Linked DNA regions of Homo sapiens: region 2 is linked to region 1. Evidence: promoter capture Hi-C in human tissues and cell types (Jung and others, 2019). All regions are on one chromosome and are shown on one strand. The core of a region is centred on a gene start or on the middle of the fragment in contact, and the rest is flanking DNA. Distances in the headings are between cores, read along the strand shown. Region 1 holds the start of TNNT1 (troponin T1, slow skeletal type). Region 2 overlaps NLRP9 (NLR family pyrin domain containing 9).

What was found. Contacts are between HindIII fragments. The study calls those that stand out against the background at their distance.
Region 2: a contact is called between a fragment that was not itself captured here and the fragment with the promoter of TNNT1 in region 1, in 1 of the 25 tissues and cell types used here (neural progenitor cells).

The regions. Positions count from the first base shown.
Region 1 is chr19:55,147,848-55,151,773 of GRCh38, reverse strand. It overlaps TNNT1 (troponin T1, slow skeletal type), which reads left to right and starts at 2,568. Exons shown (of 14, transcript NM_003283.6): 1 at 2,568-2,613. TNNI3 (troponin I3, cardiac type) reads left to right here. Exons shown (of 8, transcript NM_000363.5): 8 at 1-7. The HindIII fragment of the contact is 19,018 bases long and covers 1-3,926 here.
Region 2 is chr19:55,717,981-55,721,774 of GRCh38, reverse strand. All of the region lies in intron 4 of NLRP9 (NLR family pyrin domain containing 9), which reads left to right. Among named protein-coding and RNA genes, the nearest start is that of NLRP9, 19 kb to the left of the region's middle. The HindIII fragment of the contact is 6,338 bases long and covers 1-3,794 here.

The DNA.
Region 1 (3,926 bases), core at 1,319-3,818:
GCTGAAAGTGACTCCATGTCTATTACCCAGGGCTTAGGCAGGAGACAGATGGGAAGACTGCAGGTGGGGCTCCCCCAAAGCCACACAGCAGGTTGGGGACCAGATGGGTCTCCCATGTGAAGCACTCTTGGCTGTGTTATTGAAAAGAATCCCGGGGTTCATGAATTTGGAGAGCGGAGCTTTGTTTCTTAAGAAGCGGATCACAACCTGAAGACCAGAAGCATGGCTTCTTGCCAAAAAACAAAAGCAGGCACTTTAAGGGAGGGAAGGGCAAGGCAGGAATTTATGCTGAGTGGGTTAGCTAAGTGCACGTATTCAACTGGTTATAGAAGGAGCTATGAATATTCATGGACAGGTGGACACATGGACACACGCATGTGTGACAAGCAAACACTCATTTTTTTTTTTTTTTGAGACGGAGTCTTGCTCTGTCACCCAGGCTGGAGTGCAGTGGCACGATCTCAGCTCACTGCAACCTCTGCGTCCTGGGTTCAAGCCATTCTCCTGCCTCAGCCTCTCCAGTAGCTGGGATTACAGGCATGCACCACCACGCCCAGCTAATTTTTGTGTTTTTCGTAGAGACGGGGTTTCACCATGTTGGCCAGGCTGGTCTCGATTTCCTGACCTCGTGATCCGCCCTCCTTGGCCTCCCAAAGTGCTGGGATTACAGGCGTGAGCCACCGCGACTGGCCGCAAACACATTTTACATGCATCCCACCTTCACTTGGTGGTGGAGGCTTAACATTTAAGTGCATTCCATTGAATGCATTCGTATCGAAACACGAAGCAGGGATATGAAGACACTCAGTGCACAGCCTCTGTCAACAGCCAGAACCAGTCCGTGGTCTGCGGCATCTTATCAGGAGAAAGTTACTGAAATCAGTCTCTTGTTCAACTAATGCTGTAGTTATGCCTTGTGGAACAGGGGGTTCAGCTAGTCAGCATCTGGCAATGGATGGCTGCAATGGTTGTAATATTGCTTATCTTGAGGCCGGTGCTTGTTTAGCTGCTAGAAAAAGGAAAAGCCTTGTGGCAGTTGGAACATAGTCGATTATATAAGTGTAGGGATGCGTGGCTTAACCCTTGCCTGGCATGGCCTTAGGTCTTGTTTATAATTTGGTATCTTATTGCCACAAACAGTTCATTCCATCAGTCTTCTGATCTCTATTGTCACAGCTCCTCTGGCCCATGTGGAGTGCACAGAGATGCCAAGACTAAAGGTCAAAGAGAGAGAGACACAGAGAAACAGACAGGCAGAGAGACATGACCGACAACAGAGAGACTGAGTTGGGAGTAGAGAGAGTAGGAGCCAGGCAAAGACCCAAAGAGAGAGGGAGAAAATACCACAAGATGCATAGAAGGAAGTGCAAAGAAAGGAGAAAAGAGAGACAGAGATATACTCACAGCAAGGTGCAGAGACATGGAGACCCTATAAGAGATGGAAATGGAGAGCCACAGAGGGGGAACTGCGGGCACTAAGAGAGACATGGAGAGAACTAGAAAGATAGAGACGTGAACACAGACACAGAGACCCAGAGCCAAAAAGAGACAGAAATGGGGTCATAGGTGGACAGAAATGCACAGAGAGACTGTGAGCCCCCACAGACACAAACGCTGAGAGGGGCAGACATGCAGAGACACCCACAGAAATGCAGAGACAAAACCACCCGGAGACACATGCCGAGAAACACACTGAGGGGCTCAGAAAGCGACAGATGCAGAGAGAGCCCAAGACAGACCCAGCAAGGGGCCCCGAGAAATGCACAGAAACACAAAGACCGAGACCACCAGAGACAGAGGTACGGAGAGGCGGGGAGGGTGAGGAAGCCTGCTCTCCAGGGCTGGCTTGAACCTAGAACTCAAGGTCATGGCTTGGCTGGGAAGCGGGAGGGGGATACCAAAAAAGATCAGCGTTAGATGGAGGTGGGGAGGGAGGGTAGGTTTCACCCTAATTGACACCCCACCCTCCCCCTCCCCCTCCCCACACCTGCTTCCCGGCTTTAGTGCCTGTTGTCACCAGGATGGAATCCTGGCGGCAGACAAAGGGGTGGGGGTGGGAGGAGGAGACAAAAAGATGGACAGAGACAGAGGAGGAGACTAAGAAGTAGAGACAGACACACAGAGACACACAGATGGAGAGCCACAGAGACAACAGAAATGGGGGTCCAGAAAGAGACCTAGATAGAAAGAGGGAACAGAGAGAAGAAAACAGGAAACATTCCTTATAGCCCATGTGTCATTAGTAGGTCCTCCAAGGACCTACTGTGTGCCGGGCATGGGGACGTCAAAGCACAGGGAGCTATAAGGGAGGTAGTTGGAGCACCACGGGAGCCTGGGGTGTGGGGTGGGAGCAGGGGCGGGGCTCCTGGGCCATGCAGATGGGGTTGGCATGGGGTTGGGGAGGGGCCCACGGAGGCTTCTGGACTCTGAGTGTGGAGCCAGGGGCAGCAGGGCTGTCTCTGAACTCCCAGGCTTGTGTTTGAGCAAAGGAATTCTCTCCCCCTCCCTCTCCCCTCGGGGCGGGCCCGAGCCTCCAGCTATAAACTCCCCGGAGCTTCAGTGCCCTCAGCAAGGCTCAGCCTCAAGATTCACAGCATCTCAGACACAGCCTAGGTAAGGGGCTCTGCGGAGCCCTGTGGTCTTCAAAAACCATGTCCTTGGGGGAGGGGGCAGGAGGCAGGTGGGGAAGATGTCGGGTGTGGAGAAATGGTGCAGAGGTAGGTGGGGCATACAACTGGAGGTCTGGGAACTTGAGAGGCTCAGACTTTAGGGGGACTCAGGATAGAGGGGAAAATACTAGGATTTGTGGGTTACACAAATCCTAACCCGGGGCTGCCAGGACTTGGATGTCCCAGAATAAAACCTCCTAGGATCTTGGGGTTCTGGGAATCTGGGGGAAATCTCAGCAGTCAGGGATATCTGGACTTGGAGGTCAAACAATCTGGGTGTCAGGATTTGGGGCCTCAGACTCTGAGGGTATCAGGAATTGGGGGGGTCTCAGAAGAAATTGGGGTTTTGGTAGTGGAGGGCTCGGAATCTGAGACATTATGATAGAAAGCATGAAAACTTAGAGTGCCATTATCTGGGGTATCATGAACTGGGCCTCCGAGTTTGGGTATCAAGATTTTGGGGGTCTCATATTCTTGAGGTTTCAGATTTTAGGAGGTCTCAAGACCTGGGGGTGGTCTTAGGATGTCCCGGCCCATATCTGGACTATCAAGAACTGGGATTTCAGAATCCAGAGCTGTGAGGACTTGCTGGCCTCAGAAACACGGGCATCATAAATCGGGGTCTCAGAATCTGTGGGTATTGGGATTTGGGGCTAGGCACCCTGTGGCCTAGGGTGTCTCAAAGACTTTGAGGTCTAAGAATGTAGGGGTCAGGGTGAGGTCTACGGACAGAAGGTGCCCTTTATGCCCCTGCCCCCTACGTGATGTATGGGAAGGTGAAAGGGGAGACAGGTGGGGAGGAAACCAGCCAGTGGGGTGGGGCGAGTGGGAGAGGGGATGCGGGTGACTAATTCTCCCAGAAGCCCCCCTTCCTCAAATCCCTTCTTAGGAAATGTCCTCGGTTTCACCATCTATGACATCCCCCCAAAATAGCTCCTGGGGGTGGGGCAGCTATTGTCTTCAGGCCACTGTCCCTTCTCAAATGCCTCTTCCTAATCCCAACTGGATCAGGTTCCCATGGACTTGTCATAAGACAAAAGAGGACAGCTGTGCTGAGGGGGCAGGGTCTGCAGCCTCCTGGCTGTGCCAGGACCACACCTACCAAGGTCTGTCCTCATGCATGCTTTAGGACAGCCGGCCCCCTCCCTCAGACCCAAGAGTCCAGACCTGAGCCCTCCTCCCTCAGACGCAGGAGTACAGGCCCCCAGCCCGCTCCTCCCTCAGACTCAGGAGTCTAGACTCCCAGCCTCTCCTCCC
Region 2 (3,794 bases), core at 1,234-3,733, 570 kb before region 1:
AGAACAGCCTGGGAAAGACCCGCCCCTGTGATTTAATTATCTTCCACTGGGTCCCTCCCACAACACATGGGAATTATGGGAGCTACAGGATGAGATTTGGGTGGGGACACAGAGCCAAACCATATCACCAAGGATGCTGCTAAATACCCAGTAATGTACAGGACAGCTCCCCAACAACAAAGGATTATCTAGTACTGGACTACTGAGTGCTAGCCTGTGAAGTGCCCTAGGAGAGATTAGAGTGATGCTTCTCTTCTGGTGGTGGGAGGGGGTCAGCTTGGCTAAAACAGAATGGGGTATTTGCCTAAATCCAACCCAGGGGCTCTTGTACTAGGAAAAAAACATCTAATACTGTGCAGTGGCCCTGGACAAACATTTTTATGGATACCACACCTTAATTCGTGTGTATCTGGAAACCCTTATGACAAACACCTGTTTCTCCACATCAGCCATTTTACTTTGTCATTGTTGTTTACTTTTTATTGAAAGATTATTATACTCACAGGAAATTACAATAATAGTACAGAGAAGTCCCATATACCAATCACCACCCAACTTCCACCAAAGGTAACATCTTACATAACAATAGTGCATTCTTAAAACTAGGAAACTTTACTAATGAAATGTACAAAGCTGTTTTTAAAAATATGCTTTTATGAAACTTCCAGTGAAACTAGACTTAATCAGTATCTTTTAACCAGAGGCTTCACCAGATTATTTGCCTATGAAATGAATGTGTTCCACTTGTCCCGTTTTCTCCCCAACACTTAAGGGTGTTGATCTTTTCAAATCCATTCTGCTTCGGGCATAATATCTGAGTGGTTTTAATTTGCATTTCTCTAATGACTAATAATATGAGCGCCTTTTCATTTGTTTGACTTTCTGGGCTTCCTGTTGTGATATGTCTGTTTGATGTGCTGATGTAGCCCATTGTTTTATTGGGCTGTCTTTTTCTAATTGATTGACAGGTGTTTTTCTTATATTGCGGAATGAATCCTAGGTCAAATACATGCATTGCAAATATCTTCTATGTGGTTTGGTTTTCCACATTCTTAATATCATCTTTGAATTAAGAGAGATTCTTTATCAAAACTGAATGTGTCTTTTCGTGTTCAGCTGCTTTTTGTGTGTGTTTAGGGAATCATTGCCAGGCTTGGTGGCTCATGCCTGTGATCCCAGCAGTTTGGGAGGCTGAGGCAGGAGGATTGTTTGAGGCCAGGAGTTGGAGACCAGCCTGGGCAACATAGTGAGACTCCCGTCTCTAAAAACAAAACAAAAAAATTATCTAGGTATGGTGGTGGATGCCTGTAGTCACGGCTTACTCATCAGGCTGATGCAGGAGGATCTCTTGAGCCCAAAGGTCCAAGGTTGCTGCAGTGAGCTGTCATCACGTCACTGCACTGTAACCTGAGTGACAGGGTGAGACCACGTCTCAAAAGAAAATAATTGTTTCCAAGCCCAAAGTCATAAGAATAACTTCCTGTGCATTTTTCTCTCAAAGTCTTATTGTACCATGCACAAGTGGGGCTATGACCTACTTTGAGTAAGTGTTTCTATGTAGTATAAAGTCAGGTTTAAAAAAAATTCACATATGAACACAGAATGCTGTTGAAAAACCACTTTTTCTCAAGTGAACAACAGTAGTTATCATTATAAACCAGATGACCACGGTGTATTTGAGACCAAAAATATCTGTTTTGATTTTATTTTTGTAGATTTTTTTCCCCCACACATCAGAGAATTGTAGGTTTTCTTTCACTGTTTTCTTTCTTTTGTTCTTTTACATGTTAAAGATGTAATTCCATCCCATTCAGGCTGCCATGCTTTTTCTAAATAAATCAGTATATTTCGTCCCATTGTAGGCAATGTGCTTAATGTGTCTTGTCTCTGGCTAATTTTAAGTTTCCCCTCCCACCCCCATTGTGTGTGGTTTTGGTATTTCTTTGTGTTTATCCTGCTTAAAAATTCACTGAGCTTCCTGCATTTGTGGATGAACATTTGCACAGGCTTCTGAGAACATTTTACCATGATCTCTATCTTTAAATATGGCTTCTGCTACATCTTCTCTCCCATTTCCTCTTGGTCTGACAGGAGAGATCCCCATCATAGTTTCAATCGAGAGGCTTGAAGAATGAGGAGCTTTCTATGCGGCACAGAAGATAATTAGATACAGGCATGCAATAATTAATAAAAAGTCAAAAGACTGAGGAGCTTTTAAAAAATTATCACAATGGAGAGCAAACAATCCATGCATAAACACTTGCATATGCATTGCCCTTTGAGCGGGATGGAGAAGACAGATCTGAAGGTGGCCAGGGGCCGGGCCGGGCATGGCGGATCACACCTGTCATCCCAGCACTCTGGGAGGCCGAGGCGGGCAGATCACTTGAGCTCAGGAGTTCGAGATCACCCTGGCCAACATGGTGAAACCCCGTCTCTACTAAAAATACAAAAATTAGCCGGGTGTGGTGGCAGGTGCCTGTAATCCCAGCTAGTTGGGAGGCTGAGGTGGGATCTCAGCTCACTGCAGCCTCTGCCTCCTGAGCTCAAGCAATCATTTATGAAATGTAATTGTTTTCCTGAGGTCTGTGATCCACTCTAGCAAATCAGTCTAACCCAAGGAAGGGGTCAGGGGAACCCCCATGTATAGCCGGTTGGTCAAACACAGGCAGAGCAACCCAGCGCTTGCAACTGGCATCTGAAGTCAAGGGTGATCTTGTGGGACTGAGCTCCTACCGTGTGGGATCTGACTCTCACCTAATTTAATAAATGATCTGAAAGATACAGATGTGCAGCTGGGATCTGACTCTCAATTTAATAAATGATCTGAAAAATACAGATGTGCAGCCAGATAGACACACAGGATGAGATCTGGAAGGGTCCTGAGTGTGAAGGGGGCCAGCCCCTCCACACCTGTGGGTATTTCTAGTCAGGTGGAGATGAGAGACTCAGAAAAGAAACAAGACACAGAGACAAAGTATAGAGAAAGAACAGTGGGCCCAGGGGACAGACGCTTAACGTGCGAGGACCCGCACTGGCGCTGGTCTCTGAGTTCCCTCAGTATTTATTGATCACTATTTTTACTATCTTGGCGAGGGGAATGTGGCTGGGCAACAGGTGGGGAGAGGGTCAGCAGAGAAACATGTGAGCGAAGGAATCTGTATCATGAATAAGTTCAAGGAAAGGTACTGTGCCCGTATGTGCACGTAGGCTAGATTTATGTTTCTCTTCATCCAAACATCTCAGTGTAGCAAAGAGTCACAGAGCAGTATTGCTGCCAGCATATCTCGCCTCCAGCCACAGGGCAATTTTCTCCTATCTCAGAATGGAATGAATGGGAATGGTCAGCTTTACACCTAGACATTCCATTCCCAGGGACCAGCAGGAGACAGAAGCCTTCCTCTTATCTCAACTGCAAAGAGGCCTCCCTCTTTCACTCCTCCTCCTCAGCACAGACCCTTTACGGGTGTCGGGTTGGGGGATGGTAAAGTCTTTCCTTTCCCATGAGGCCATATCTCAGGCTGTCTCAGTGGGGGAAACCTTGGACAATACCCAGGCTTTCTCGGGCAGAGGTCCCTGCGGCTTTCCGCAGTGCATTGTGTCCCTGGTTAATCGAGACTGGAGGATGGCCATGACTTTTACCAAGTATACTGCCTGCAAACATATGGTTAACAAGGCACATGCTGCACAGCCCTAAATCCATTAAACCACGTGTTTCTGTGAGCACAGGGTTGAGGCTAAAGTTATGGATTATCAGCATCTCAAAACAGAACAGTTTTTCTTAGTACAGATCA